7 separate regions of the Homo sapiens genome follow, and regions 1, 2, 3, 5, 6 and 7 are each linked to region 4. Evidence: promoter capture Hi-C in 16 types of primary human blood cells and fetal thymus (Javierre and others, 2016). All regions are on one chromosome and are shown on one strand. The core of a region is centred on a gene start or on the middle of the fragment in contact, and the rest is flanking DNA. Distances in the headings are between cores, read along the strand shown.

The links. Contacts are between HindIII fragments. The CHiCAGO score rates a contact against its expected background, and 5 or more counts as called.
Region 1: a fragment that was not itself captured here is called in contact with the fragment with the promoter of SGK2 in region 4 in 4 of 17 cell types (M1 macrophages, endothelial precursors, M0 macrophages and 1 more); the score reaches 9.5 in M1 macrophages.
Region 2: a fragment that was not itself captured here is called in contact with the fragment with the promoter of SGK2 in region 4 in 1 of 17 cell types (M0 macrophages); the score reaches 5.1 in M0 macrophages.
Region 3: a fragment that was not itself captured here is called in contact with the fragment with the promoter of SGK2 in region 4 in 14 of 17 cell types (M1 macrophages, endothelial precursors, activated CD4 T cells and 11 more); the score reaches 9.8 in M1 macrophages.
Region 5: a contact is called between a fragment that was not itself captured here and the fragment with the promoter of SGK2 in region 4, in 3 of 17 cell types (monocytes, endothelial precursors and total CD8 T cells). The highest score is 6.7, in monocytes.
Region 6: a fragment that was not itself captured here is called in contact with the fragment with the promoter of SGK2 in region 4 in 1 of 17 cell types (naive CD8 T cells); the score reaches 5.5 in naive CD8 T cells.
Region 7: a fragment that was not itself captured here is called in contact with the fragment with the promoter of SGK2 in region 4 in 3 of 17 cell types (naive CD8 T cells, total CD8 T cells and fetal thymus); the score reaches 6.0 in naive CD8 T cells.

Annotation. Positions count from the first base shown.
Region 1 is chr20:44,079,136-44,082,133 of GRCh38, reverse strand. No RefSeq gene overlaps it. Among named protein-coding and RNA genes, the nearest start is that of JPH2, 110 kb to the left of the region's middle. The HindIII fragment of the contact is 6,228 bases long and covers 1-2,998 here.
Region 2 is chr20:44,120,120-44,123,147 of GRCh38, reverse strand. The region is part of intron 2 of JPH2 (junctophilin 2); the gene reads left to right. Among named protein-coding and RNA genes, the nearest start is that of JPH2, 66 kb to the left of the region's middle. The HindIII fragment of the contact is 603 bases long and covers 1,128-1,730 here.
Region 3 is chr20:44,098,995-44,101,878 of GRCh38, reverse strand. No RefSeq gene overlaps it. Among named protein-coding and RNA genes, the nearest start is that of JPH2, 87 kb to the left of the region's middle. The HindIII fragment of the contact is 3,805 bases long and covers 1-2,884 here.
Region 4 is chr20:43,557,547-43,560,303 of GRCh38, reverse strand. It overlaps SGK2 (serum/glucocorticoid regulated kinase 2), which reads right to left and starts at 1,277. Exons shown (of 13, transcript NM_170693.3): 1 at 1,145-1,277. The HindIII fragment of the contact is 1,890 bases long and covers 128-2,017 here.
Region 5 is chr20:44,194,060-44,196,876 of GRCh38, reverse strand. OSER1 (oxidative stress responsive serine rich 1) reads left to right here. Exons shown (of 4, transcript NM_016470.8): 4 at 1-938. Among named protein-coding and RNA genes, the nearest start is that of JPH2, 8.3 kb to the right of the region's middle. The HindIII fragment of the contact is 833 bases long and covers 1,046-1,878 here.
Region 6 is chr20:44,138,526-44,141,341 of GRCh38, reverse strand. All of the region lies in intron 2 of JPH2 (junctophilin 2), which reads left to right. Among named protein-coding and RNA genes, the nearest start is that of JPH2, 47 kb to the left of the region's middle. The HindIII fragment of the contact is 8,658 bases long and covers 1-2,816 here.
Region 7 is chr20:44,169,283-44,172,304 of GRCh38, reverse strand. The region is part of intron 1 of JPH2 (junctophilin 2); the gene reads left to right. Among named protein-coding and RNA genes, the nearest start is that of JPH2, 16 kb to the left of the region's middle. The HindIII fragment of the contact is 6,904 bases long and covers 1-3,022 here.

The DNA.
Region 1 (2,998 bases), core at 64-2,563, 520 kb before region 4:
GCCTGGTTCCCACCCAGGCTCCCCCGCTGTCAAGCTCTGTGACCTTCGGCAACTCACTCACCCTTCTGAGCCTCAGTTTTCTCATCTGTGAAATGTGAACAATCATTGCATCTATCACATGGGGTTGGCGAGATGATGAAATGAGCCAATGGGTCTGCAGTGCCCAGCAGAGGCCCCAGCACACGTGCTCTGGCAGTGGGATCTGTTATTCCTGTTTTTATTTCTCCATCTGGCGGCAGGAAAGGATACAAGTGGAGGCACCTTTCCTGTGTTTCCAGGCAGATGCTGCCGCTGTTTGCTGGAAGAAGAGCTCAGGACCTGGGGAGGAGGGGCAGGGCTGAGGAGGCCTGGGTGCGGGGAGCTTCCCCAGAGGGCCGTGGGAGAGGGGACCCTGCAGTCTGAGGTCAGGCCTGGCCTCTGGTTCTCTACCTCCTGGGGACAACTCAGCCAGCTTGAAGGCAGGGTCTCCCATCACAGGCAGGCAGGAAGCCAGCTCTGTAGGCCAGCAATGGCAAGTGGGCAGAAGGCTGTGACTGGGGCAGGGGTCCCAAACGGAGGTAATGACAGCACAAAGTGTCCCCCAGTCCCCTCCTCCTGTCAGGGAGGGGAGCAGCTGATAAACTCATGCTCATGTGGGTATTTGGAACTAATACAGTCACCCTTCTGGGGGAACTTCCGGTTTAAAAGAGAAGTCTGGATAGAGCAATGCATAACTCAAAGGAATATTTTGCTCCAGTGAATTTCAGGTGATACAGCAGATCTATTTTTCTGGTCAGGGGCTCCGGTCCAGAGTAACCCCTTCTCATTGCCACCCAATAAAAGAAAAAATAAGTAACAACTGGGGACCCACCTGTTTCACCTTCTCACAAGAGAGAAGGATGTTGGCAGTGTGGTGCTGCGGTGTTCTGAGTTCTGACATCATGCCAGGATCATCCTAGGATCGTAGCACTTAGTATGCAGTAAAGCCCTTAAAAGTGATATCATATTGTCTTGTTAAGTTGTCAGAGCCACTCCGTGGGGTTGTAGGTGTAGGGCAGTTGAATATGGAGGCTAAGCATGGAGGTGAATGACCTGTGTCACCTACTCGCAGATGGCAGAACTGGAGTCAAACCCATTGTCTGACCGTAAATTAGCCCTCTTGGCTCCTAATCATTCTGTTAGGCCTGCTACACTGCTCTGCAGTTCCTAATTATGACCACCAGGAGGCACCACCACTCCACACGTGAGTACTCTCCGCACTGTTCCTGAGAAGTGAAGGCTTAGAATCACGTCACTACTTTCTTATTTACCACAGTAATATTAATAGCTACTATTAACTTAGCACTTGCTATGTGTCAGGACTGCACTAAGCACTACATGCTTTATTTCATATATTTCTCACACATCTCTAACATTTGGACCAGACTGTTTCACAGAAACAGTGAAATTCAAAATCAGGTCTGTGTCTTCAAAGCCTGTCCTCTTAACCATATATCCTCAGTGGAGATCACCAACTAGATGCTTGGAGGCTGCATTTGGTCAGCAAACTTGGTTTTGTTGGTTGGTTTGTGTTTGGTTGGTTTTTTTTTGTTTTGTTTTGTTTTTTGGCTGGGATGGTGTTCCAACACGCATTGAATTTAAATGCTTTTTGGCAGGGCAGTCCCTCTCCACTTAGCCCCAGTCCTCATCACTCTCTCTCATATGTCCGTCCCTCTGTCTCCTTCCTTTGCTTATGTTATCTGCCTGACCCTGACGTCACTGGAATTTGCAGCTTGTGGTTGTGAGTTCGTCGACTCCCTTTATACTAATAATATATTGTAGATGGGAGTCAAGGGATTCCAGGGCAGCTTGGAGGTTTAGGAAGGCACCCAGGAAATGTAACAAATGGTGTGGCCAAGAGTCACTGTGGAGATGCGGGAGGCAGTCCTGTCCTTCAGTGTCCTCCCAGGACCTATCAGTAAGTGTCCCTTGTGCTGTGTCAGCATAGCGTGCATGGCACCTGCAAAGACCTGTGGATTTCCTGGGCTGGACGGTGGTGAGCTGGAGGTGGAGCATGCCGCGTTTCGACTTTGCAATACCCTCCCAGAAGAGTGACCTGGCTACTGTGCACTCACACAGAATCCTTCCTGATTTGCGTCTGTTTCCTTTCACCTGGCCCATGAACCAGTGGTTAGATTTAACCAGCACCGTGGGGTTTCTAATCATTATTGAGCACCCCATCTACAGGGACTGAACTGTGTTCCCCCAAACTCACATGTTGAAGTTCGAACCCCCGGTGCCTCAGAATATGACTGTATTTGGAGACGGGGCCTTTAAAGAGGTGATTACGTTAAAAATGAGGCCATTAGGATGGGCCCTAATTCAACCTACCAGGTGTTCTCAAAGAAGACGAGACTCAGACATGCAGAGAGACCCCAGAGGTGGACAGGCGCAGAGGGATGGCCATGTGAGGACACAGAAGGTGGTCATCTAGAGAGGCCTCAGAAGAAACAAAGCCTGCTAGCACCTTGACCTTTGACTCCCAGTCTCCAGAACAGTGAGAAAATTAATTTCTGTTGTTTAAACCATTTCTGTTGTTATGGCAGCCCAGGCTGACTAATATGCTGTCCATCAAAGGTGGGCGGAGTTGAGGATGTAAGTGTGGTCAACAGCCGGCCTCGCAGGGCACTGTAGCTCATGCATGTGATCCCAGCACTTTGGGAGGCCGAGACGGGAGGATCGCTTGAGCTCAGGAGTTCAAGACCAGCCTGGCCAACATAGTGAGACCCTGTCTCTACAAAAATTAGCCAGGTGTGGTGATACGTGTCTGTAGTCTCCGCTACTCGGGAGGCTTAGGTGTGGAGATCGCTGGAGCCCAGGAGGTTGCAGCTGCAGTGAGCTGAGATGGCGTCACTGCACTCCAGCCTGGGTAACAGAGTAAGACCCTGTCTCAAAAAAAAAAAAATAAAAATAAAAAGCCAGCCTGACAGGGGAGGAGGAAGGAGCTTGGAGACCACCCTCCTACTCCCCACTCCCCTGT
Region 2 (3,028 bases), core at 180-2,679, 560 kb before region 4:
GAGTATGCTTGCTTCCAGCACAGCAGCCCTCATTGCCCTGGGCTGTGTGGCCGCCCCTGTTCTGGCTGTGCACAGTGGGTCCCCCAGAATCTTCCAGGGCTGTGGGGAGAGGCTGCCTTTCCTGCCTGAGGAGTCCTCAACCCAGCTTCCAAAGGCACCAGAAAGTGGGCATCTTTCTGCTCACATGACCAAAAAAAGGGCATTTTCTCAGTTTGAAGGCTTGCCCAGCCCTTTCCCTCCTCCTCCCTCCTGGGGTTTCATGTGCCCAGAGAAGTGGCTCTAAAAAGTTTAGAACTTTGTCTCACACATACTCACGTGCAGGCAAAAATAAGCCTGGGGATATGCATGTAGCACACTCAGTTTTGATGTACAGATGTCATTCTCCTCCTCCTCTTTCACCACCGCCACCAACACCCCATCATCGTCATCATCAAGACCAAACACTTTCACGCGTTGCCTCTCACTTAGTTTTCACGGCAACTTCAGGAGGGGAGAATTACTATCTCCACTTTACAGATGAAGAAACTGAGGCACAGAGAGGTAAAGCCATGCATGCACCCAAGGTCCTAGACTCCCAGTGGGGTGAGGTGAGTGAGTAAGTGAGGGATCCAAGTGCAGGGTCCAATCCAGGCTTTATTTAAAATTTTCTTCATAGGTTGTTCATCAAGGATTTATTTTTGCATTAATTTAGACTTTTAAAATATTGCATTAAAATGTGATTCCTCTTGATCACTGAGTTTTTTGGCAACCCCATAAATTTTGCCCCTGAGGCGAGTGCCTCGGTCATCTCATTCTGTCCCTGGCCTTGGCAGAGCCCAAATTGGAATCCAGGCCTGTTAATTCTAAAACTGTGTGCTCTTAACTCTTCCCTAGGCTGTCTCCTTGCCCCTACATATGTGCACGCCTGCATGCGTGCCTTCAGCCATGTATTCATTCAGTAAGCATTACTATGGCAATATGGCATAGTGGAGAGGCAGGGGCTTGGACATCAGACAGCTCCAGGTTTAGAATCTTACTCTGCTGCTTGTTATTGAATGGAAATTGAGCCTGTGGTTAGGATACAGACTCTAGATCCCAGAATGCTTTGGTTTGAATCCTTACTCTGGTACTTACTAGCTATGTAAGCTTGGGTGAATTCTTTTTTTCTTTCTGAGATGCAGTCTTGCTCAGTTGCCCAGGCTGGAGTGCAATGGTGTGATAATAGCTCACTGCAGCCTCGATCTCCTGGGCTCAAGCAATCCCCCCGCTGACCTCAGCCTCCTGAGTAGCTGGGACTACAGGTGTGCGCCACCACACCTGGCTAATTTTTTTTTTTTAATTGTTAGTAGAGACAAGGTCTTGGTATGTTGCTTAGGCTGGTCTTGAACTCCTGAGCTCAAGTGATCTTCCTGCCTCAGCCTCCCAAAGTGCTGGGATTACAAGCACGAGCCACCATGCTGGCTTGGGTTCTTTAGAATACTCCTTTGCCTTGGATGTCTCCTCTGTAGAGAGGGATGATAGGAATAACATCTACCCTGTAGAGTTATTGGGGGGTTAAGTTAATTTCTGTAAAGCCCTTGGCATATACTAAGTGCTTTGTAAATGTTAACTCCTATTTTGTTTCCTTGAGCAAGACACCTTTCTGAACCTCAGTTTCCCCACCTGTGAAGTAGGGACCGGTAAACACTACCTCACTACCTCACAGTTTTGAGGTTTGTAAGGGATAAAAGCCCTGGTGCCTAGTAGAAGCTTAAGGGAATTTATCCCCCTTACCGTGCGCCCAGTTCTCTGCTGTAGACTGAGATAAAGACACACACACATCAGCTCCCCAGGGAATTAACTCATCTGTAGAGAGTGGACACTCTGACTTGGCTTTGCAGCTCCTCGAAGGCACAAAGCTCTTCCTCAGTCTCAGAGTCTTTGCACATGCCCTTCTGTCTACCTGGCTCATTGACCCGCCCACCTCTTAGGGGCCTAACGTATGTGTTTCTTCAAGTCTCAACTCAAATGTCAACTTCCTCAAGGAATCCTTTCCTGACCAGCCCACCTCCACCACCCATCAACATTAAGTCTTTCTGTCCTGCATTTTCATTGTATTCTCTACTCCTCCTTCACGGCATATTTCACAATTATAATTAGGTACTTTTTATTTAATTGCATTTTATTAAATAGTTTTTGTGTCTGTTTACTAGCCAGCTCCCTCATCTGACAGTAGCCTTTCTGGTCCACAGAGTCTCTGTCCTCAGTTCCTGGCCATGCTCAGCTCCTGGCACAGGCTCTGGCACATGCTCAGCTACTGGTATAGAGCAAGCTTGTCTAACCCTTGCCCATGGGCCCCATGCAGCCCAGGACAGCTTTGAATGTGGCCCAACACGAATTCGTAAACTCTATTAAAATGTTATGGGATTTTTTTTGTGATTTGTTTTTTTTAAGCTTATCAGCTATCGTTAGTGTTAGTGTATTTTCTGTGTGGTCCATGACAATTCTTCTTCTTCTGGCCCATGGAAGCCAAAAGATTGGACACCACTGCCCTAGAGTTACGTTGCCTGGGTTCAAAATCCCAGTTCCTGCACTTCAGGACTCTGTGACCTTGGGCAAATTGCTTAACCTGTTTGCACTTCAATTTTCTTTTCTGTAAAATAGGGATAATAATAACAGCACCAGCTTCCTAAGGCATTAGAATGAGCATATGAGATAATCTTCATAACTCCTTTAGAACCATGCCTGGCCCATTAGGAAATTGGACTGTTATTACTTTAGTAGGTACTTCTGTGAGTTAAGCTAAGCTGACAGCTGAAACAGACATCTCCCAAATCTCAGGTACTTAAGACAATGAATATTTAAAATTTGCTCCTGTCACGTGCAACTGTGGGGCTGTGGGAAGGGGCTTTGCTCCATGCAATCATTTATGGGCTCACATTTCTTAACTTGGAGTCCACAGGAGGGTCTGTGGATAGATTTCAGGGGTCCATGAACTTGGACGGTGTAGGTTAGATTCCCTAGAAGTAGAGCCTGAAGTGGGGATTCTTGTGTAAGTGATTTACTGAGG
Region 3 (2,884 bases), core at 78-2,577, 540 kb before region 4:
TGTTTTAAGTTCTTTGACAAGTCGCCAAACTGCTTTCCACAATGGCTGAACTAATTTACATTCCCACCAGCAGTGTATAAGTATTCTCTTTTCTCTGCAACCTCTCCAGCATCTGTTATTTTTTGACTTTTTAATAATAACCATTCTGATTGGTGTGAAATGGTATCTCATTGTGGTTTTGATTTACATTTCTCTAGTGATTAGTAATGGTGAGCATTTTTTCATATGCTTGCTGGCCATGTGTATGTCTTCTTTTGAAAAATGTTCATATCTTTTGCCCACTTTTTAACGGGGTTGTTTTTTGCTTGTTAATTTGTTTAAGTTCCGTATAGTTTCTGGATATTAGACTTTTGTTGGAGGTATAGTTTGCAGATATTTTCTCCCATTCTGTAGGTTTTCCATTTACTCTGTTGACAATATCTTTTTGCTGTACAGAGCTCTTTAGTTTGATTAGGTCCCATTTGTCAATTTCTGTTTTTGTTGCAATTGTTTTTGGAGTCTTCAACATGAAATCTTTGCGAGAAGCTATGTACAGAATGATATTTCCCAGGTTATCTTCCTGGGTTTTTATAGTTTTAGGTTTTACATTTAAGTCTTTAATCCATCTTGAGTTGATTTTTGTATACAGTGTAAGAAAGGGGTCCAGTTTCAATCTTTTGCATACGATTAGTCAGTTATTCCAGCACCATTTATTCAATAGGGAGTCCTTTCCCCATTACTTATTCTTTTAGTTTTGTGAGTAAACTCTTCTTTTCTTTCCCTCTGAAGTCTTGTCAGATTTTCTCCTAAGATTCAGTCTTCAGAATTTAAACAGAGCATGTGTCTAAGGTGAGTTCTTTAGGAATTAATCCAGTCCTGGAAACAACGTGCTCTTTCGGTGTCAAAATTTGAGACTTCCGGCCAGGTGCAGTGGCTCGTGCCTCTAATCCCAGCACTTTGGGAGGTGGGCAGATCACTTGAGGTCAGGAGTTCGAGACCAGCCTGACCAACATTGTGAAACCCTATCTCTACTAAAAATGTGAAAATTAGCCAGGTGCGGTGGCATATTACAGGTGGTGCACCTGTAAACCCAGCTACTTGGAAATCTGAGGCAGAAGTGCTTGAACCTGGAGGCAGAGGTTGCAGTGAACCGAGATTGCACCACTGCACTCCAGCCTGGGTAACAGAGCAAGACCCTGTCTCAAAAAAAAAAAAAAAAAAATCAGTCTTCAGCTCATTGAACTTATCCTCTCAAATAGGATTAATTGTCCAACTCTTCTAATTCTGTATTTCCCTGCAGCCTGGATTCTCGTGGGGTGTTTTGCACCTGCCTCCTAAATGTCCTCCCTTCCCCTGGTCTACCTGTTCTTTCATCCCTATGAGGAGATGTCCTATCACTTACTATACCATGATTCCCATTTATTCCAGTCCAACTATTGGATATTTCTTTTAATTTTTCAAACATTTTACTTCCAGAAAGTCATCAAACCCAAATTGCATTTTCTTGAAAGTTCTTATTTATTTGTTATTAAAGTTTTCTCATCTCTTCCACTAACTCTTTCACCTTCTTTAGGAGTTAATTGTACAAATTGCCTTTCTTTTTCCTTTTGCTTTTTTATGCCAGGGTAGTTAATAGTGGAGGTAGTGAAAACCAACCACTTAAAAACTAACAAGCAGACACTAAGTCTTTTAAATGCATGATAACATGTAATCCTATCAACGATATAATTAGACAGACACTATCATCATCCCTATTATGCAGATGAGGAAACTGGTGGCCAGAAAATTTACATGATTTACCCCGAGTAATTTACCGTGACTCCAGGGCCCACCCTTTTAACCTCCACCCTCCATCCTCTATCTCTTGGTGGTAGAGAGGGTAATTACCTCCTCTCGTAACTATTTTCCTTTGCTATTCCTGGCCACTAGGTTCTCTGAGCTTTCTTATAGGTCACGACATAAAAGTGTTGATCAGGGCAAACTAGCAGCGAGCAGAACGCCCTGTGAGTGCTTATCTAACAAGCTGGCAACTTGCAAATATATCTAATATTCAGGAAAACTTTGTAGCTGCATTTAAAAACTCTCCCAGCTGCAGAGATTTGAGTCCTGCCTGCTTCAGGTCCATGGTATTGAGCCAAATAACGCCACACTCAGCAGACAGAAGACAGCCCTTTGTGAATATCAGAGGCTGGCAAAACATGGCTGGTGGGCAAAATCTGGCCCGATGTCTGATTTGTTTTTTTTTTTGGTCTTTGAGCTAAGAACAGTTTTTACATATGTATGTATGTATGTATGTATGTATGTATGTATGTATGTATGTATTTTTGAAACAGAGTATCACTCTGTCACCCAGGCTGGAGTGCAGTGGTGGGATCTTGGCTCACTGCAACCTCCAGCTCCCGGGTTCAAGCACTTCTCCTGCCCCAGCCTCCTGAGTAGCTGGGATCACAGGCATGAGTCATCATGCCCAGATAATTTTTGTATTTTTAGTAAAGACAGGGTTTCACCATGTTGGCCAGGCTGGTCTCGAACTCCTGGCCTCAAGTGATCCGCCCACCTTGGCCTCCCAAAGTACTGGGGTTAAAGGCATGAGCCACCATGCCCAGCTGGTTTTTACTGTTTTAAATGGTTAGGGTGGGAAACAAAGGAAGACTAGTTCATGATGTGAAAAATCATGTAAAATTCACATTTCAGTGTTATGAATAAAGTTCTATTGGCCCACAGCTATGCTCATTTAATGATGTATTTTCAACCTTCATATTGACAGATTGAACTGAGGCAGGAGAATAGGGTTTGGACCAGGCAACTTAAGGCCAATGTGTGCTGACTTCCTAAGGCTGGATCAAAAGGGAAACACTTGGGTCTGGGGGCAGGGACTCTAAGACCAATTAACACCCACTTCCAA
Region 4 (2,757 bases), core at 28-2,527:
TGGTCTCAAACTCCTGACCTCAGGTGATCCGCCTGCCTCGGCCTCCCAAAGTGTTAGGATTACGGGTGTGAGCCACTGTACCCGGCCGGTTATTTTAACTTTTATCTTTGTACTATTGTGTAAAGCTTCTCAAGATATTGCTGTTGAGTTAATATTCAAGTACTGAGTTCCTGGTGGGAACCTGGCATGCCCATGGCCCATCACACCCTCCCCCATCACCTTGACTGTGACCCCCATGCCTAAGCAGCCCTCAGTTCCTAAGGCTTTCTTCTCTCTCGCACCACGGTGTTCTAATTTTCTGGCCAGAAGCTGGACATCAATATATTCTCCTAACTCTTCAGACTCCGCAAACTCCCACTCAAGCCCCTCCATGAGTCCTCAAGCCTGTCCCTTTCCTAACTTGCCACAGCCCAGACTTGCCTCCCTCTGTCCCACTGTTACATGGACCTGCTTACAGCTCCCTGGCCCTGCCAAATGGGGTGTGGGGGTGGGACAGTGTCACACAGTTCTCTCTCCTTGGAACATTCCCCAACAAACCTGGTCTTTCCAGCTCACCTTTTCACCTGTTCTCATTGCCTTTCCTGGAAGCCAGATGACCCTCCGATCCCATGCACCCTCTCCTGCTGCTGTCCCTGTCTTCACTGTAACTTGTTCATTTACACGCCTGCCCAGTTCAAGTGCCAACTTGATCTTATTTTGTTCCCACAACCCCACGGGTTAGGAACTATCATCGTCCCTGTTTCAAGGAGGAGAAAACTGAGGCAAGGACAGGGAAGTGACATGATCAAGACAGTTAATAAATGACATAACCAGGATTTGAACCCAGGCCATCTGACTGCAAAGCCCACGGCCTGGAATTTCAGGAAGACAATAGAAAGCTAGAAAAGGAAAAAATGAAGTCAGTGGGAAGGAAGTGAGGATGTAAGTTGGTTAGTTAAGGAGGAAGAAAATTAGGCAGCTGAGAAAGCAGATAGTTGGGAGGGAAGGAAGGAAAGGAAGGAGGGAGAAGGGAAAGAAGTCGCCAAGGAAGAAAGGAAGGAAAGAAAGTAAACAGGTACTAGGAAAGATGTTAGCTAGGTAACTAGTCAATCTGGAGACCAATAGGCGAGCAGGCAGGTATCCTGCTCACAGGTGAGCCTCTCACCTGAAAACTCCAGGTTCCTGCTCAGGTCCTGGGGAGCAGCCCCATGCACGGCTCTGCCCTCTTCTCTCTCTTCATGGTCCTTCTGACTGGAGGCACAATCCTGACTTGTCAAGCAACCTTCCCAGTCAGGAATGACCTGTCACCCACTCGCTCCTGGCTCCCAAACCGGCTCAAGTTCAACCTCCCAGCCCTGCCTGCTGGAAGCTGGCTTCGGGGCCTTCCAGTTACTAATTAACCACTGGACCTGAATTACCAAGCTGGCTGCACACACTGGCTCCTGGATGGGCCCTGCCTGGGGGACTCTCTGAATTTTTTAAAGCACAACTTGTTATGTGACCATGGGCAACTGACTTCAGCTCCCTGAGCCTCATGTGAATTGGTGACGGATGGTGTGTCCTGCTGGAGGGACGGTTTCTGAAGTCCCTTTCAACACTGGAACTGCCGCACTCTCTCAAGGTCCAGCTTAAGTGCTGACTCCTACACAGCCTTCCCTGATTCCCTCCGCTGAGTCATCTTCCCTTTCGCTTGGAACCTAGTGAACCAGCAACTGAAAGGTTGGTCTCACACAACACCCTCCTCCACCCCTTCCCTAATGGGGGCCACCAGCCCCTATGTTCAGTCATTTCATGGAAACTTCCAGGACTGGGCAGCTCATTTCCCCCTGAGCCAGCCTCTGGCAATTTCTTGTGTTAAGCCGAAGACTGCCACCCACAGCCTACCCGACCAAGCACTGCCCTGGCACCGTTCTGGGAGAATCACAGCTGAGTTGAAACCTATGCCCCACTCTGCCCTTCAGAGATTTGAGGCTCAGGAACCAGAGATGAGTTCACCCTGGAGAACAGGGAAGGCTTTCTCGGGGGTTGACCCAAAGCTTCCCAGGCCCTGGGTTCTTTTTTTTTTTTCTTTGAGACAGAGTCTCGCTCTGTCACCCAGGCTGGAGTGCAGTGGCGTGATCTCAGCTCACTGCAAGCTCCGCCTCCCAGGTTCACGCCATTCTCCGGCCTCAACCTCCCGAGTAGCTGGGACTACAGGCGCCCACCACCACGCCCAGCTAATTTTTGTATTTTTAGTAGAGATGGGGTTTCACTGCATTAGCCAGGACGGTATCGATCTCCTGACCTTGTGATCTGCCCGCCTCGGCCTCCCAAAGTGCTGGGATTACAGGCGTGAGCCACCGCGCCTGGCCGGCCCTGGGTTCTAACTCAGGGCACAGGCAGGGCCTGGACCCCTGGACAGGTAAGGAAAGCTCTGCCCAGTGACCCCTCCTGAGCAGGCTGACTTTCACACTGCTTCCTCCATTGCCTTTCCATTAAAATGTCAACAACTTTCTGGTAATTCTGGTGCCTTAAACACCGGCTGCTCTGCTGTGCTCCGGAGGAGCCCTGCATGGCCACACACCCCACCTCCACCAACACACATAGCAGCATGTGTCTGGCCCTGGTCCAGATAGGGGAGGTAGCTGGCCCAAGTGCACAGAGCAAATCAGGGCAGCGCACAAGGTCCTGCCCTTTCCAGAGCTCCTGCTGCTGCTGCTGCTGTGCCACCAAGCTCCCTCTCCTCTGCTCTTCCAGAGCTGCTTAAAAAACCCCCAAACACGCCACATACTGGTATTG
Region 5 (2,817 bases), core at 213-2,712, 640 kb before region 4:
TGAGTTCTTACATACACTTCAAGGCGAGCAGATCAAAGAAAAATCCCCCTTATTTAGAAATGTTCCTGGGGGATGAAGAAACCATAATTACTTGAGACTGGCAGCAGTGGGTATATGGTAAAAGCCTTTGTAAAACAGTGCATTTTTCAGATTTGTTTAAGGTTTGCTAGCCAAGGAAAGTAAAATGTGATTTTGTAACTGCACTAAACATTTGTCATGCTGTAGTTGCCAGCCCAGAATATTAGAAGTTACAAGACTGATTTAAACCGTCTCTGATTTAATGCAAGATATATTGTGTCTATAAAGGTTTCTCTTGTTATTGTTAAGCCAGAGATCTAAGGTTTAGATTCAATTTGAATAAACTAGCTGGCCTGCCCTCTATTGTTTGAGAGAGTTATTAACCATCACTAAATAAGCCCCTGCTGGTGCTATTCATCCTAAGACATGTTACATGCAGTTTCAAGTAAGCAGCTTGGAATGGGCTGCTTCAGTTGGAGGGAGGGGGTGTAATATTTGAAACGAGTGTGTGTCTTCACCATCTCCAGCATTTTAAATATATGGCGGTTTTTTTTTTTTTTTTTTGTTATCAGTTGTAATACAGGTCTCATACCTCAGTTTCAGATGTTATAGATGGTTACCTCTTTGAGCTGCCCTGTCACCCCAGCAACCCTAAAAGAGAATTTTGTACATTCTGTATCCCACAGATTTGGTCAGCCATTTCAAAATTCCCTCCAGTTTGGTAAAAAAAAAATCTGTCTTCGGTTTCAGCTGGATGATGAATCCTTGTTTTTCAGGTGGCTCCAAAAAGAATGTTGCATGTGTTCAGACCATCCTGAGCAGAGCCACCAAATTTAGTGACAGTGTCTAGCCATGTTAGCAATAATGTTAACAGAAGCTTTTGTTTAAATTACAAAATACATTTATACTATTTACTAAAACTGCGCTGGCTGTGGTTGATTCATGATAATGGGATGTGGGCTTCAACAAATAGGTGATTTGTACTTGGGGGAGAGGGGAAGGGTGTTTACTAGAAAAACCCTAAGCTTAAGTAGTAGTGGGAGTCCTCTGCTGGTCATTGGTTTGGTGTGGATTTAGTGACATCTGAAGGCTGTGGTTAAAGCAAGGGAGCAAAATACCTTATCACAGTTCTAGAAGCTGTGACAGATATTTCCTGATAATGGTGACAGAAGGTACACTATTTAGTATATCTAAGGCAGAAATTCTCAAACTTTTTGTAAGCACTTCCTTTACACTGACAAATTCAGGACCCAAAAGGTTTTGTTATAATCTCCAAAAGGATATAAATATTTACCATGTTAGAAATTAAAACTAAGATTTTTTTAAATATTTAAAAACTCATTACAAGCTAACAAAATTTTTGAATGAAAAATAGCTTTTCCAAAACAAAAAATAGAAGAGTGGCATTGTTCTACCTTTTTGCAAATCTTTTTTAATGTTTGGCTTAATTAGAAGACAGATTCTCATATGTTTCTGCATTCAGTCTCTGGGATATCGCATATTGTGTGGTCTCTGGCAAACTTTTGTACACTTGGGAGAATGAATGTGAAAAAGGCAACTACAGGTTGAATATTCCTTATATGAAATGCTTGGGACCAGAAGTGTTTCGGATCTCAGATTTTTTTTAGATTTTGAAAGATTTGCATTACATGCTTATCAGTTCAGCTTCCATAATCCTAAAAGCCAAACTGCTCCAATGAGCATGTCCTTTGCTCCTCATGTCAGTGCTCAAAAAGTTCTGGATTTTGAAGCATTTCAGATTAGGGACCCTCAACCTGTAATGTTTTAGTACCATGTAAATAATTTTGACCTCAGATTTCCTAAAAGGGCCTCAGGGATTCCAGGACCAAAATTTAAGCTTCTGGTTGTAAAGGTACCACCCCGCTTTCACCTCCACAACTAATGTTTTGGCTCACCTTTAAAAAAATTAAAACTGGGCCGGGCACGGTGGCTCACGCCTTTAATCCCAGCACTTTGGGAGGCCGAGGCGGGCGGAACACAAGGTCAGGAGATCGAGACCATCCTGGCTAACGCGGTGAAACCCCGTCTCTACTAAAAATACAAAAAATTAGCCGGGCGTGGTGGCTGGCGCCTGTAGTCCCAGCTGCTCAGAGGCTGAGGCAGGAGAATGGTGTGAACCCAGGAGGCGGAGCTTGCAGTGAGCCAAGATTGCGCCACTGCACTCCAGCCTGGGCAACAGAGCGAGACTCCGTCTCAAAAATAAAATAAAAGCTGTAGAGGAGTGGAGCTATTGTAATTAAGTAGTGAGCTATTCAAGTTCATGTTAAGTGGGCTTAACATGGGCTTAACATGTTCTTTGAATTAAGGCGAGTTCTTAAGCCTTTAAATCCCTTTTAGTTTGTTTTTCAAGCCAGCGCTCTGGTTATTTACTTAGTGCTGTATATTAGTGCAGCAGTCACCAGAGAATGATGATACGTATTCTTTTCATATGAAGGTGTTAGGAGGGTGTAAGTATTGAAAAGCACAAAGTTCCAATGACCTAGTAACTCAAAATCCAACTTGCATGAAAGTTTAGGCATTCCAGATTTGTGGGAATAAGTTGTAAGTTATCTACATCTCAGCAAAATCTTCCTCAAAACATGAATCTTGAAGTTAAAAATTACTCTGCTCAGACCTAATTGGCCCAACTTTAACATTAGGGTCCCTCATTGGGATATTTGACGTTCTTTTGTGAATGTGATGTACCAAACTAATCTCCTTTCTCTGATACATCTAGGAAAATGGATTTGGTTTGTGGATTGAGGGATTAAGTCTCACTCTGATGTTCCAAAAAAGTAA
Region 6 (2,816 bases), core at 158-2,657, 580 kb before region 4:
CTGCACACCTAGCCTCACCTCTGCATTCCAGGCAGCGGAGGTCCAAATGCAACAGCTTCTCTCCATGCAGAAGTGAAGACCTTCCCCAGATGTAGAGAATGGGAAGGTGAATATTTTTAGCCGGATGCGTTGCTTCCCTGAACAAATTAGGCTTCCGTTAGTGGGAAAGAGGGAGAGAATGGATATTTGGTGAGCAGCTAGCAATGTCTGTCTCAACATCCTTGCAGAGGTTTGAAGACTGTGACCTTAATATCCCGAGTCTTCCCTGGTCACCACATCTCTAGCCCCTTCACTGCACCTCTGTTTTCATGTCTCCTCCTTCTCCATCTTTCAGATGGAGAGACAGAGGCACAAACATCATTCACGGTCAAGAGCACAGGCTTTGGGGTTAGATAACACTCGTTCCTTGGGCATGTCACTTTCCTGAGCCTCAGTTTCTCCAACGGTGGGAGGTGGTAGAAATTGATATAGTACTTACCACTGAGGGTAAAATGAGATATAACCTGTGTAAATACTGTACACCACAGTCATTCAATAGTGGCAGCTTAAAAAAATTATTCTACGATTACCCTTGCTTCAGTGATTCTTCTTGGTGTTATTGAAGGGTGAGATCTCGGTGGGGATCTCCCAGGTGTTTCCATAATCCCAGCGATCACCCCAGGGAGAACCTCTTTCCTTAGGCTGCTAGAGGACATGTGCCATAGGACCAGATAGGAGGGAGGGGCAGCGGTGGGAATGCGTTTTCAGAGCTACCTTTGGCCAAGCCGTATCCTTGTGGGGACCTATTGCATTGCTGCTGAAGTGCTTTTCCCATCAGCCCTGGCTTCGTGTGGCCCTGTCTGGCAAGGGGGTGCTCCTACAAAGTCATGGCAGCCTGGTGCCAAAACCATCATCCCATAGGACCTGCTGTAGCTTTGCCAGAAGCCTGGCCCAAGGGGTGGAGGCCCCTGGAGCTCTGACCCACCACGTGGAGGGTGGGAAATGCCACAGAGCAGGTTCTCTAGAAGGGATTTGTCAGAAGCTAAACTGGGGTGCCCCCTGGGCTCAGGCCTGCACAGTTTCTCCCTGACCACCCAGCTGGGATGGATATAAAGACAGGTGTCATGTTGCAGAAAGCCTGCCCTAAGAGGCCCTACTGGTGTTTTCCTTTATTAAAAAAAAATAAAATCTCGGCCAGGCGCAGTGGCTCATGCCTGTAATCCTAGCACTTTGGGAGGCCGAGGCGGGCAGATCACGAGGTCAGGAGATTGAGACCAGCCTGCCTAACACGGTGAAACCCCATCTCTACTAAAAATACAGAAAATTAGCTGGGCAAGGTGGCACGCGCCTGTAGTCCCAGCTACTCGGGAGGCTGAGGCAGGAGAATCACTTGAACCCAGGAGGCAGAGGTTGCAGTGAGCCAAGATTGCACCACTGCACTCCAGCCTGGGTGACAGAGTGAGACTCTGTATTAAAAAAAAAATCATACATTCATTTGGTTCAAAACCCAACAGTTAGAAAAGTATTACTATAAAGAGTCCATCTCCTTTTCCTGTCCCCATCTTGTTGCCACCTCCATAGGCAACTCTTGTTTGTAGTTTCTTTCCTTTCCTTCCAGTTACTTTCTATTAAGATGGAAAATATGAAATTGCTAATATTTGACCAGGTTTGGCCTATAAAATGGCAATTTCATACTGTTCAACCTAATATAAACAAATGTATAGATTCCTGTTCTTCTCTTTCTTACACAAAAAGTAGCATATTATACTGTAGCATATACATACTGTTTGGAATCTTGCTTTTTTTTCTTTGCTGTGTATATATTGGAGATCTATTCATGTTTTTCCAAGTACAGAACTTGATCAGTTTCTAAATGCTTGTGTAGAATTCCATTATATAGCTGTGCCACAATTTACTGAATCAGGTCCCCATTGTTGTACATGGATGTTTGGGTAGTTTCCAGATATTTGCTGTGTTAGATCAATATTTCCACCCATGGGTTGGTATATCTCTAGAATAAATTCCCCCAACTCGCAGTTGCTGGATCAAAGGCTCTCTGTGGTGGCTGTCCCATTTTATCTTCCCGTCCACATTGTTTTAGGGTGGGAAGGCCTCTGCCACTGACTTGCTGAATGACCCCGGGCAAGTCCCTGCCCCTCTGTGGTTCTCCATTTCCTGGAGCACTGAGCTCTCCTTGCCTTGTCCTTGGGGGGAAAAAAGCCGGCCCAGATTCACTTCCTTGCTTGGCCTTTCCCACGTCCCAGTCATGGGCAGCTATTGTTACTGTGGATCCTTTGGGAGATGACTTTAGCTCAGAGGGAGTCCAGGGCAGCCCAGTGAGGTCAGCATGGAAGAGCAAACAGGAGGACGAGGCGAGGCAAAGGCACAGCGGTGTGGCAGCTGGGGCAAGGCAGCGATTGCCAAATGCCAGTCACTGCCATACCTTCCTGAGCCGCGCCGTGTCCACATGCTGTCTGGATCCCCTTACTATTTAAAAAACATTTTAACTTTCTTAAATCTAAATTTATTCTTATAAAGAAACTTTAGATCATTACCATAAATACAAATCTAGTATTAGATTAGAAAAAGTTAGCCAAAAAAAAGAAAAAGAAGAAGAAAAAGAATACAGTGAAGCAAAATATCATTAAACCCCATCCCTCAGTTGCTTATTAAAATCTTGGCCAGGTGCAGTGGCTCATGCCTGTAATCCCAGCACTTTGAGGGGGCCAAGGCAGGAGAATTGCTTGAGGCCAGGAGTTTGAGACCAGCCTGGGCAATATGGTGAGAACCCATCTCTACAAAAAAATAAAAAAATTAGCTGGGTGTGGCAGTGCTCA
Region 7 (3,022 bases), core at 322-2,821, 610 kb before region 4:
ATTGTACTAATATGAAATGCCCCTTTTTCCTTCTCACCCCAATTTAGGGTGATCAGCCATCTCAATTTGCCTGAAACTGCCCGGTATTAGCACTGAAAGTTCCACATCCCAGGAAACCTCTCAGACATAGGCAAACTGGGATGACTGGTCACCCTACAGTCTTTTCCCATGAAGTGAAAGGAGCCAACCTTTGTTGAGAGCCCGAGATCTCTGCTAGATAAACCATGTAATACAGCAACCTTGCAAAGGAAACTTGCTATGCTCACTTTACTGAGAGGAGACAGACTCAAAGAGACCTTATTCAAAGCCTGTGCTTATTAATGCATTTGACAGTATCTGTTGAATGTCTTCCATGTGTGAGTCCCTGCATGGAGTGCTGGGGATGCTGTGGTGGGCGAGTCAGACCTGTCCCTGCCCCCAAGTGCATGTATCTTAACAGCAGAGACCGGCATCTAACAATTACTTAAATACAAAATGTGATACATATTTTGAAGGAAAAATAGAAGAATTTATGAACTGATAACAGGGAAACCTGGTCTGGTCTGATAATCAGAGAAGGCGTCCTTGAGGAAGTGATGTTTGAGCTGAGATATGCAGGATGAATAGAGGTAAACTGGGTGACAGGGGAGGCCGCACAGGCAGGCAGAAGGGACAGCAAATGCAAAGGCTTGGAGGTGGGACCTGAGCATGCTGTGTTCCAGAAAAGGCTGGAGCACAGACTCAGAGAGAGAGAGTGGGGTGGACGAGGCTGGAGAGATTGGCAAAGCCCAGATCATGAGGGTTTTGTGGGTCACAGTGAGGAGCTTGAACTTCATCCTTCTAGTAGATTCTAGGCTACCCCTTCAGACACTCCTTAGGACCAGGGACACATTCCCCGAGCTGCCAGGAGTGTTAGCAGCTGACAGATCCTGGCTGGGTATTTCTCTCCAACAAAGGGAGCTGCCTCCTTCACATCTAATGACTGTAATGACCTGGCCCCCTTGCTTTGATTTTGGGCAACGCTGAAGGGCTATACCAGCTTAAATCCCCCTGGGATCAGTTGAATATTCTGTTGCAGATGTTCAGCTTCCTCCACTGCCAAATCCTGCTTCCTTCCTTACACGTGCTCTTCCTGAGAGCACTCCCCGCTAAATCTCCCACACATCATCTCAGCTTCAGAATCTTTTCCCTAGGGATCCTGACCTGAGACACTCCTCAAGGCACTGGGAAGTTACTGCAGGGTTTTGAGATGGGGAGTAACCTGCTGAGAGTTGCATCTTATGAAGAAGATGAGTGGCAGCAGCAAAGGGTCAACTGAAGTGGGGGGCAGGGAGGATACTACTGTCATCATCGAGGGAGAAAAGGATGTGGCTTGGACTAGACAGATAGGGTGGAGACCAAGAGAATTAAGGAGTATCGCAGTGCGTCATCATGAGAGTCATTTAAATTCTTAGTTTCAGTTTTTCCAATTGTAACATCGAAATGATGATGCCTGTATCTGTTAGGATACTTTCTTATCTATTCATTTTAACAATATATTGAGCAAAATTAAAGAGATATTCAGAGTCAGGTCTATCTGAAGACCATGTGATTTCCATTATTCTTTGCTACCTCCAAAGCTGTCTTAGCCCTGGCTTACTTTCTCTGGGATGCTGGGTCCATAGTCTTTATCAAGGTGGGTTAGAGCCAAGCTATGAGTCCCTTATAATCAGGAGCATCTGTGTGGTGTCTGTGGCATGGGCATGTGTGCTGACCACAGTGAGCATTTCTGGTTCACCTGGTCTGATCTTGGTATGCTTGGACAAGAGCCATTAACCCCTGGACTCTCTGATGCTCACTCTGTATCTGCCATGCTCCATCTTAAACACTGTCTGAAATTTGTTGATGACACTTCTATGGGCCACCCAAAGATCTTATGCCAACATCTGGTACTATGTGAGAGGACTTGGAGAAGGATCAGCGATGGCTGGTAGACAAAACAGGCAAGATAAAGACAAGAGAGCTGCCATGGGAAGTAAGAAGTGATAAATGTCTTGGGCAATGAGAATTTGGAGGAAGGAAGGTGGTTCCCTGAAGGAGGTGGTTTGAAACTGGGCTATGAAGGATTTGGGAAGACAAGGCTGAGAAAGTGACTTGGAACCAGGTCATGAAGGAACTGGACTATCAGGTAAGGACTTCTATAGGCAATGGGGACTCCTAGAAAGGAGCTAGTCCTCGTTCCTTCTCTCCATCTCTGTTCAGTTCTCCAGTGTGTTAGTCTGCTTTCTGTTACTTATAACAGAATACCTGAAACTGTGTAGTTTATAAGAAACAAAATGTATTTCCTAGAGTTCTGGAGGCTAGGCAGTCCAAGGTCAAGGGGTCATATCAGGAGTGGCATTCTTACTGGTGGAGACTCTCTGCAGAGTCCCAAGGTGGCACAGGGTGTCATGTGATGAGAGGGCCGAGTGTGCTAGCTCAGATCTCTCTTCCTCTTCTTATAAAGCCACCAGCCCCACTCCCATAACCAATTAAACCATGAATCCATGAGTGGATTAATCACCTCTTAAAGGCCCCACCTCTCAATACTGCCACATTGGGGATTAAGTTTCAATTTGAGCTTTTTAGGGGGACAAACATTAAACCGTAGCACCGAGGCACACTGATCTTCCAACCTCAGATAGTTCCCTGGAAATAGGAAGGTGTCACTGGCCAGATGGGATGGTGTTCTCAGTGTCCATTCTGTATTTGGAGGCAGAATCCTGGTCTGGCCCATATGTCTCTTTGATGTCTCAAACTGGATTCTGGATCTCCCAGCTTTTCCTTGGTGTCTTAGTCAATTTTGTGTTGCTGTAAAAGAATACCTGAGGGCCAGGCGTGGTGGCTCATGCCTGTAATCCCAGCACTTTGGGAGGCCAAGGCAGGCGGATCATGAGGTCAGGAGTTCGAGACTAGCCTGGCCAATACAGTGAAAAACCCCGTCTCTACTAAAACTACAAAAAATTAGCTGGGCATGGTGGCAGGAACCTGTAGTCCCAGCTACTTGGGAGGCTGAGGCAGGAGA